Regions from separate parts of the Homo sapiens genome. Here region 1 is linked to region 2. The links are contacts of gene promoters, found by promoter capture Hi-C in human tissues and cell types (Jung and others, 2019). All regions are on one chromosome and are shown on one strand. Each heading gives the region's core, a stretch centred on a gene start or on the middle of the fragment in contact. The rest is flanking DNA. Distances are from core to core; before and after follow the strand shown.

Region 1 (5,294 bases), core at 690-3,189, 1.5 Mb before region 2:
AGGTGTGGTGGGGGTGCCTGTGATCCTAGTGACTTGGGAGGCTGAGGCAGGAGTATTGCTTGAACCTGGGAGGCGGAGGTTGCAGTGAGCCGAGATCGCGCCACCACACTCTAGCCTGGGCAACAAGAGCGAATCTCCATCGCAAAAAAAAAAAAAAAAGTAAATGCCATGAAGTCACCCCCCTTGTCTTGTTCCCAAACCTGTCCCTTCTGACCTCAACCTCCTCACCTTCAGTCAGGACATGGGGAAATCCCATGACCTCTGAGCCTGTTTCCTCAACCTTAAACTGGTAACGACAACTCATATTTTTTTTTTTTGAGACGGAGTTTCACTCTTATTGCCCAGGCTGGAGTGCAATGGCTTGATCTCAGCTCACCGCAACCTCTGCCTCCTGGGTTCAAGCGATTCTCCTGCCTCAGCCTCCCGAGTAGCTGGGATTACAGGCGTGAGCCACCATGCCCAGCTAATTTTGTATTTTTACTAAAGACGGGGTTTCTCCATGTTGGTCAGGCTGGTCTTAACTCCTGACCTCAAATGATCCGCCCGCCTCGGCCTCCCAAAGTGCTGGGATTACAGGCGTGAGCTGCCGCACCTGGCCACAACAACTCATATTTTAAAAGATTGAGCTGATCCACATAAAGTGCTCAGAAAGGAACTTGTCATCCTCTTTTACGGCTGAAGAAACTTATGTGTCTTGTAAGTTGCAAGCCAGGACTCAAACCCTGCTCTTGGGCCAACTCTGGGGCTTAACCAGACACATTCCATTTTTGCCTTGTACCAAATTCCTATTCATCTAGCAAAGCCTTAGCCACAATGCCCCTCTGTTGGGCAGCCTTGTGTGATGACCCAGGGAAGAGATTGCTGGACCCCCTTAGGGTTCCTGTATCTGACAGTATTGTGGTTCTGGCTGCCTACAAGCATAGAACCCCTATTCCTGTCCAAGGGATTCCCAGGGACCAGGGAAGGAGCCCTACCGTGCCTAGTAGCTCACTCCGCATCTCGCTGGTGTACCGCGCCCGTGACTGCAGATGCACCGTCTTTGTGGCGGGCACTCGCTCTCTGGCTGTGGTTGGCACACGGCCAGGGGCCAGGAACTGGTTGGCCAGTGCTTTCTCTGAGGAGGAGGTCTGCAGAAATGTGGGAAGATAAGTCACTGGAGGGGCAGGTCCTGGGGACCAAAGTGAGCGGTGATGGGGGCTGAGGGGGCAGGGGCACCCCTTCTCACCAGCTTCTCGGCTTGCAGCATCCCCTTCAGAAAATCCACCTTCCAGGAATATTCATTGATCACCTCAGAGGCCGGTTTGCTGGAAGGCAGGAAGAAGAAAAACAAAACCTGTCCATGGTCCCCAGCTCAGGGAAGGGTCCCAGCTGGGATAGCGGTACTGGGATGTCCAGTAGCACAGCCACGTGCTGATGTGAAAGCCCTGAGGCTGCCTGCACTCACCTCGCGTGGACCTTCAGGGCCTGCAACATGTCCTCTAGGGCTCCCACGTACTGGGGAGGAAAAGTGGATTGTCACCCGGGGGTCTTTCCCATGTCCTGATCATGGGAGTCGGGGGGGCGGGGCCGACAAATGGGAGGGGTCAAGCGTAAAGGAGGCGGGGCCAGTGGGGGAGGGGCGGAGTCCCAGGGACGGGGGCGGAAGCTACAGGTGGACGTGGCGGGACTGACCGGAAAGGGCGCTGCCCGAGAGGCTACTGGGGCCGGGGAGTCGGGCCAGGTGGCTTCCAACCCTAGGAATCACCCCCCGGGAGTCGGGCTCTACGCGGCAGTGCGAGATCCCCTCACCTTCTCCAGGCGCCACTCGTCCGGGTCCCGTTTCTCCGCTGCCATCGCCTCGCAGCGGGATAGCAGCCGCACCAGGTTTAGCTCCAGCCTCGACGCCGCCATTATCGCCCGGCCCTACACCACCCCTTCCGCCGGCTCCATGTTAAGAGAGGGCGGAAGTGCCTTCAAGTGGCCTTCCGGGCGGATGTTTCCCCCGCGCTCGTTAGCTGGCCCATCTTTGTTTGGAGCGGAAGTAATATCTTGTTTTGAGACGGGGCGCTGGGCCGGGCGCGGTGGCTCAGGGCTGTAATGCCAGCATTTTAGGAGGCAGAGGTGGGAAAGGATTGCTTGAGGCCAGCCCGGGCAAGATAGCGCTACTCTATCTCTATTTTAAAAAAATAGGAGAGGCGCCACCCCATTCTTACTTAGGCGAATCACTTGCTTTTCCTCGAGAGCATGTTAACCCTTCGGGAATGATAGGACGACCGGGGTCTTCTGGTGTCAGACCCGCGTGCAGTGTGCCCTTTTGTTCTGTTTTGCCTGCTCAAAGTACCTCCCCGCACCCCACTCCTACCTGGATTCTTCCCAGTCGGAGCTATTTCACGTCCACACACCCTTCCCGATTTCTGTAGCCTGGGATTCAGGAATCCAAGGCTTCCCCCACCTCAGCAGGGCTCATCTGTATTGTGGTTATGGGTTTCCAGGTCACAGCTCCAGCTCTGATTCCATCCTCGGCCCTGGGAGAGTTTAACTTTTCTGGATCCGCTTCTTCCCCCGGGAAATGGACAGTGTGACAGTACCTGCCTCAAGGGGCACATGAGACAGCTCTGCCTGAGAGTGAGCAAGGTGGGGCTGGGTCCCCCCTAACGCCCAGACCCCCATGGAGAACCCCTTCCCAGCCCACCTCAGTACCTGGAAGCTGAGTACCCCTATGCCTTGCAGTGCCTCTCTTCTGGAGTGACAGGATGAGGGTGGGGGCTTCACAGGAACCAGGGCCTGGCATGCAGCCTTCATGTTTTCCCACACCTTAGGTCATCTGCACCTTGGTTACACCAGTGGGCCTGATGTCCTTGAAAAATATCATAGACGGGTAGGTGCGGTGGCTCACACCTGTAATCCCAGCACTTAGGGAGGCTGAGGCAGATGGATCACCTGAGGTCAGGAGTTTGAGACCAGCCTGGCCAACATGGTGAAACCCCGTCTCTACTAAAAATACAAAAATTAGCCGGGCGTGATGGTGGGTGCCTGTAATCCCAGCTACTTGGGAGACTGAGGCAGGAGAATCGCTTGAACCCAGGAGGTGGATGTTGCAGTGAGCCGAGATTGTGCCACTGCACTCCAGCTTGGGCAACAAAGCAAGACTCCGTCTCAAAAAAAAAAAAAAAAAAAGAAAATACCATGGAGGGCCAGGTGCGGTGGCTCACGCCTGTAATCCCAGCACTTTGGGAGGGTGAGGTGGATGGATCACTGGAGGTCAGGAGTTTGGAGAGCAGCCTGGCCAACATGGTGAAACCCTGTCTCTATCAAAAAACACAAAAATTAGCTGGGCTTGGTTGTGCGTGCCTGTAATCCCAGCTACTCGGGAGGCTGAGGCAGGAGAATCGCTTGAACCCGAGAGGTGGAGGCTGCAGTGGGCCGAGATCGCGCCACTGCACTCCAGCCTGGGTGACAGAGCGAGACCGTGTTTCAAGAAAAAAACCCACAACAAACAATGGAGACCAAACCCAGGGCCCATCAAAGGGGCCTCTAGAGGCTGGCAGGGCAGAGTCTAAATCCCAGCCATGCCCCTCCCAACTGTGTGGCCTTGGAGAAGCCCCTCAACCTCTGGCATGTGCTGTCTGAACTTGGGTTCTTCACGGTGCCCCAACCAATACCAGCCAGCCAGTTCCCACGACTCCCATCCGATGGCAGCCTGGGAGCCCATCTGTTCCTGTCCTGCTGGGCCCACCAGGAACTGGCCACCTCTGCTGGATGGGTGGCTGCTGCAGCTGACATTTAGGCTCCAGAGGCTGGGCACTGAATCAGGGAGGCCAGAGAGGGCTGCCAGGACAGCAGGCGCTCCTGGCCAAGTGAGGCTCTGCTGGGAGCTCCCTGTTTGGTGGAGGATCAAGACAGAACTTTGAGGACAGTGTTCCACCCATATTCTGCACCCTTCTTGGCTGAGGCCACAGGGCAGACCCCCACCCACCGGCCCTGTTCTTCCAAGCCCGATCCCATATGAGCAGGCGTCCCATGCACACACTTCTCAGGCACTTTTTATTTCATGCTGTGCGGGGGCCCCTTGTCCCAGATTTGTGGCCACGTGTCCAGGTGTCTGGGGGAGTGGGCCAAGCCTGAGAGAGGAGGGCCCTGCTCCAGAGATCCCCAGGTTGTCCCTGTTGACCTATAGGGAGGTCTGACTTCAGGCGTTGCCCTCCTGACCCGTGAGCAGTCCTGAGTCGCTGGCTCCTATTCTGTCACACGGGGTGGGTAGTGCCAAAAGCAGCCTCCTGCAGCCCTTGGCGTCCGGAAGAGTGACAGCCACATTCAAGTCTCCCTGGCACGTGAGGTCCATGGTGCCCCTGACTCATGTCCTGGCTCCAGCCAATAGCCCAGACCCCCATGGAAGGTTCCAGCATGTGCAAAAATGCACATTGGCCAGGTGGCTGCCCCCCGGAGACATGTGTCAGAGAGGCACGGGTCAGGTGACCCAAGTGTCCAAAACTCTCATGGAGGGTCCCAGCCCATTGGCCACCCCAAGCCAACCACAGCAGGGTCTGAGCCTCAGACGCGCAGTGGCCTAGTGGCTTCTGCTCTGACAGCTCACGTCCAGGTTATAAGGGAGACGGGCAGCGTTAATAGAAAACTTTGTACATACACATATAAAAAACCATTTGGTCTTCCATTAAGGCTGTTACAGTTTAAAGTTACGTAAACCACGTACAAAGAAACAGTTAAACGTACAAAAAGGGGAGTGGGGAGATGTGAGGCCGCAGGTGGAGATGTGGTGCTCCCCACAGGTGCGTCCATGATTTGGGGGCTGCGTGCGAGGGGGCCTGGCTCCAGCCGGCCTCTCCCTGCCTTGACTCTGCACTTGGGGCCGGTGCCCACCTCACGTCACTCTTGAGCTTTTGATTCTGGATCCTTCTCTGAGGGCCGAACACTAGCTCTGCAGCTCTGGCGCCCAGCTCCAGTGCAGGGGCCGTCCTCGGACATGCAGACTTTGTCAGCTGTGGCTCTCAGCCATTGGTCTGGCCCGAGGCGGGGGGCAGGCAGTACGTTGGGGGATCCGAGTACCTCCGCTTGGCCCCAGGTGGCTGGCCATCCTCTTCTAGGGGCTCCAGGGCGCCCTGCACTGGCAGGTCTGCCCCGGGCGTGATGTACACGGAATGTATCTGGTCCGGGCGGCGGGCAGGTGGCTCCCGGCGCCGCACTGGGGCAGCCGCCTCCCGGGCACCCGGTGCCCAGCGAGGCAGGTGGGAGGGCAGGCCTGGTGGGAGCTTGATGTTGGCCGTGGGCATGATGGGGGTCCGCCGGGGGGTCTTCAC
Region 2 (5,089 bases), core at 2,362-4,861:
CTAGAACTCAATCTCCCTCAAAACCTTTGAGAAATTAAAAATAATAAGCAATTTTTGCTGGCACACTTGTCTTTTTACCTGTTACACAGTTTTAGAAATGAAGAGATGATCTATGAAGGGTGCTGGACATAGTATACAGCTCAACATACAGTAGACACTCATACAGTGGCTACCATTATTATTTTACTATTGCTGTGCAACAGCATGGGAAGCAACCTAGTAGCTGGGAATGAAGTGTGTTTACTAATTCAGTATGAATGATGTGTCTGCCTAGGGCCATGTGTGTGTGTGATGATTATTTCCTCATCCTCACAAACTTATATAATCACAGACATAGGTCACTGATGGAAGTTCACAGACAGGATTCATTCAACCACACTGAACCCAGCCAAAACTAAGATTAGGCCCCTACCTCACACCATACACAAAGTTTGACACTCAAAATATATCAAAAACCCAAATGTAAGAGCTAAAACTACAAAACTCTTATGAGGCAACGTAGATGTTCATGACCTTAGATAAAGCAATACAATGTTTTTTTAGATGTGACACCAAAAGCACAAGCAACAACAAAAAAAAATAGGTACACTGATGTTATCAAAATGTAAATCTATTGTGCTACAGAAAGACACCAAAAAGACCATGAAAACACAACCCACAAACTATAAGGAAATAACTGAAAATCACAGATCAGATAAAAGAGTCTTAACTAAAAATATAAAGCATTCTTACAACTTAACAACAAAAATACAAACAACCCAATTGGAAAATGGGTGGAGTATCTCAATAGCTATTTCTCCAAGAACATATCTAAATAGCCAATAAGCACATGATGAGATGTTCAACATCCTTACTCACTAGGGAAATGCAGATCAAAACCACAATGAGATACCACTTCACACCCACGAAGATGGCTGTGATCAAAAAGACAGTAACAAGTATTGGTGAGGTTGCAGAGACCTAGACCCCTGCAGCATTGCTGGTGGGAATGTAAAATGGTGCATAGACTTTAGGAAACAGCTTGGAAGTTCCTAAAAAAATAAACATAGAAATACCACTTGACCCAGCAATTTCACTCCTAGGTATATATCCCAAGGAAATGAAAGCATATATTGCAACACTTGTACTGATCACTCATAGCAGTATTACTCAAAATAGCAAAAATTAGAAACACTGAAATGTCCATCAATGACAAATGGGTAAATAAAATGTAGTGTTTCCATACAATGGAATATTATTTGGCAATCAAAATGATATACTGGCTGGGCACGGTGGTTCATGCCTGAAATCCCAGCACTTTAGGAGGCCGAGGTGGGTGGAGTGTTTGAGGTCAGGTGTTCAAGACCAGCCTGGCCAACATGGTGAAACCCCGTCTCTACTGAAATACAAAAATTAGCCAGGCATGGTGGCAGGCATCTGTAATCCCAGCTATTTGGAAGGCTGAGGCAAGAGAATCACTTGAACCTGGGATGCGAAGGTTGCAGTGAGCCAAGATCATGCCACTGCACTCCAGCCTAGGTGACAGGGTGAGACTCTGTCTTGAAAAAAAAAAAAGATGATGTACTGATACAAGCTACAATGTAGGAGAACTTCAAAAACATTATGCTCAGTGAAACAATTCATCTGAAAATAAAAGAATTATATTTACAGTTGTCCATTGATGTGAAACGTCCAGAAAAAGCAACTCTAACCAGACAGAAAGATTAGTGGCTCCCTAGGGCTGGAGGGCATGGAGATTTGGAGGAAACAGAGAGTGACTGATAATGAGTATGGGTTGTTTGTTTGTTTGAGACAAGGTTTGGCTCTGTTGCCCAAGTCAGAGTTCAGTGGTGATCATGGCTCACTGCAGCCTCGAACTCCTGGATGCAAGCAATCCTCCCACATCAGCCTCTGGAGTAGCTGGGGCTACAGGAATGTGCCACCCCATTTAGCTAATTATCAGAATTTTTGTGTGTGTCAGGAAGGGGAACATCACAGACTGGGGCCTGTTGTGGGGTAGGGGGAGTGGGGAGGGATAGCATTAGGAGATATACCTAATGTTAAATGACAAGTTAATGGGTGCAGCACACCAACATGGCACATGTATATGTATGTAACTAACCTGTACGTAGTGCATATGTACCCTAAAACTTAAAGTGTAATAAATTAAAAAAAAAAGAACTTGTGTGTGTGTATGTGTTTGTGTGTGTGTGTAGATGGCATCTCACTATGTTGTCCAGACCGATCGTGAATTCCTGACATCAAACAATTCTCCCACTCAGCCTTCCAAAGCACTAGGATTTGGGTTTCTTTTTTGGATGACTAAAATACTCTAAGCCAGATTGTCATGATGGTTGCATAACTCTGAATACGCAAAAACCACAGAAATGTGCGCTCTAATGGGTACATTGTATGGTAGGTGAATTACATCTTAATAAAGCTACTATAACTCAAAAATTAAAACTCAGATAAAGACATACAGATCAAGAGTTGTGGAAGTAAACATGCTTTTAACATTTACTGAGCACCTACTATGTGATGAGTGTTGTCATATACAGAAATCTTTACACCTGCCTTACAAGGTAAGCATTACTAGCCACACTGTGCAGACAAGGTGATGGTCATCCTCCTATCATATTCTATCAGCACTTCCACACCAGCTACTCAGGTGCCTGAGGAATAGAGTGTGCTGAGGAAGGTCCTCTTCATGGCAACCTTCAGTTCTTTGTTCCTGAGGCTGAAGATGATGGGGCTGAGGAAGGGCGTGAGGACTGCGTAGGTGGTGGCCATCAGGGTGTCACCCTCCTGAGAGTGGGGACCTTTGGGCTTGAGGTAGATGACAGAGGCAAAGCCATAGTGCACAATGACCACAATAAGGTGAGAGGCACAGGTGGAGAAGGCCTTGTTCCGACCTTCAGCAGAAGGGATCTTCAAGATGTCGGCCACGATGAAGGCATAGGAGAGGAGGATGAGGAGAAAACAGCCCAGCAGTGCCATGATACATACCAAGCCCACGCCCAGGGCCACAGCTGGTACATTATTTCCACAGGCCAACTTCAACAGAGGTGGCACATGACATAAAAAATGCTGGATCTCATGGGATCCACAGAAAGTCAGTTGGAAAATGGCCGAGGTCACCACCATCCCCATGACCGAGCCACCAGCCCAGGAGCAGCCCACCAGGCAGGCGCAGCCCCGTGGGCTCATGAGCACGTTGTAGCGCAGGGGGTGGCAGATGGCCACGTAGCGGTCGTAGCCCATGACGGTGAGCAGGAAGGAGTGGGTGAAGCCGAAGCTGAAGGAGAAGAACATCTGACTGGCACAGGCCAGGAAGGCGATGGAGCGCTGGGTGGACAGCAGGTCGGCCAGCATGCGCGGGATGATGGCCACGGTGTAGAGGATCTCGGAGACTGAGAGGACGCACAGGAAGAGGTACATGGGCGTGTGGAGGCTGCGCTCGCTCCAGACGGTGGCCATGATGAGCAGGTTGCCCAGCAGCGTGAACAGGTACATCAGCAGGAACAGCAGGAAGAGCATCAGTTGGAGGTGGGGGAAGGCAGAGAAGCCGACGAGGATGAATTCAGACATGGAGGTGTGGTTTAGCCCCAGCATGACGGCCACCCCTAGTTGGGGAAGAGAGGAAAGAAGACCCAGTGGTTAGGAGCATGGGGGTGTCTAGTGATTCCTGCCTGGGAGGACATCTGAGAGCGCCTCCTTCATCTGTCCAAGCCATGGTTACTCCATCTGCAGAAAGGCATTAATAATAATGTATTGAGGTTTAAATAAGATCACTCACCTTAAGTGCTTTGTGCAGGTCCTGACACAAAGTAAGAATTTAATAAATTATAAATGTTGATAGTAATAATTATTCTGCTATTGTTATTGCCATCACGATTATTAGATCCATGCACCACCACCTACACCTTGCTTTTCTGCCTTTGTTCATGCTGGTCTTTTCATGCTTTTCCCTATCTTTATGGGTCCAAATCCTACCTGAATTTTATGAGCAAGCTGCTCCCTGATTGCCACCTTCAGCTGGAAGTCATCTCTTCCCTATGTCATGGAAACGTCCAGACTCTGTTTAATTCTCGGCACCACTGCTTTCTAGCTGTGAGATGCAGGGCAGGTTGCTTCCCCTCTCTGAGCCTCATTGCTCCCCTGGAAAATTGAAACCACCTTTGCAAAATTATGACTGAGACAGCGAAAGAGATCTAACTTAACCAACTCCATCTTGCTTCTAACCTCCAAGCTGTCCTTGTTCATTCCAGGACATAGGGTGAACTAACTTTGGGGGAAATTTAGTTTATAGTTTATAGTTTATAGTTTGGAACAAGGACGATAACAGCCCTTTCCCAAAGCAGACCTCCTTCTTGTCTGGGGATTAGATTGCCTTTGTAGAACTAACATTAGCCACAAGATTAGAAATTATGGTTTAGGAGTCATGCAGCTGGAGGCTACAAGATTCTGACCCTCCCTAAATTGCTCCCAAGATCAGTGCTTGAGATATTTTGCAGATCCTGCACTTGATGGATCAGCTGGCACCACCCAGGTCGATAAACTGGCTCAACTGATCTTGTGGCCCCCACCCAGGAACTGACTCTCCGCAAGAAGACAGCTTTGATTTCATCTCTGACCAATCAGCACTGCTGGCTCACTGGCTTCCCCTCCACCCACCAAGTTGTCCTTAAAAACTCTGCTCCCCAAGTGCTCAGGGAGACTGATTTGAGTAATAATAAAACTCCAGTCCCCTGCAGAGCCAGCTCTGTGTGAATTACTCTTTCTCTATCACAATTCCGCTTTTTTTTTTTTTTTTCTTTGAGACAGAGTCTCACTCTGTCCCTGCTGGAATGCAGTGGCATGATCTCGGCTCACTGCAACCTCCGCCTCCTGGGTTCAAGCAATTCTCCTGCCTCCGCCTCCTGAGTAGCTGGGATTACAGGCCCGCATCACCACACCTGGCTAATTTTTGTATTTTTAGTAGAGATGGGGTTTAACCATGTTGCTCGGGCTGGTCTTGAACTTCTGAGTTCAAGTGATCAGCCTGCCTCAGCTTCCCAAAGTGCTGGGATTTATAGGTGTGAGCCACCATGCCCAGTCAAAAACTTCTTAG

Evidence for each region. Contacts are between HindIII fragments. The study calls those that stand out against the background at their distance.
Region 1: a contact is called between the fragment with the promoter of USE1 here and the fragment with the promoter of OR10H2 in region 2, in 1 of the 25 tissues and cell types used here (lymphoblastoid cells).

What each region holds. Positions count from the first base shown.
Region 1 is chr19:17,212,002-17,217,295 of GRCh38, reverse strand. USE1 (unconventional SNARE in the ER 1) reads right to left here and starts at 1,939. Exons shown (of 8, transcript NM_018467.4): 1 at 1,789-1,939; 2 at 1,445-1,494; 3 at 1,226-1,304; 4 at 975-1,127. The coding sequence starts at 1,890. It overlaps MYO9B (myosin IXB), which reads right to left. Exons shown (of 40, transcript NM_004145.4): 40 at 4,010-5,294. The coding sequence ends at 4,986. RefSeq lists a silencer at 1,546-1,615 and enhancers at 1,636-1,955, 1,719-2,299. The HindIII fragment of the contact is 58,541 bases long and covers 1-5,294 here.
Region 2 is chr19:15,726,546-15,731,634 of GRCh38, reverse strand. It overlaps OR10H2 (olfactory receptor family 10 subfamily H member 2), which reads right to left and starts at 3,611. Exons shown (of 1, transcript NM_013939.2): 1 at 2,583-3,611. The coding sequence starts at 3,591. The coding sequence ends at 2,644. The HindIII fragment of the contact is 21,841 bases long and covers 1-5,089 here.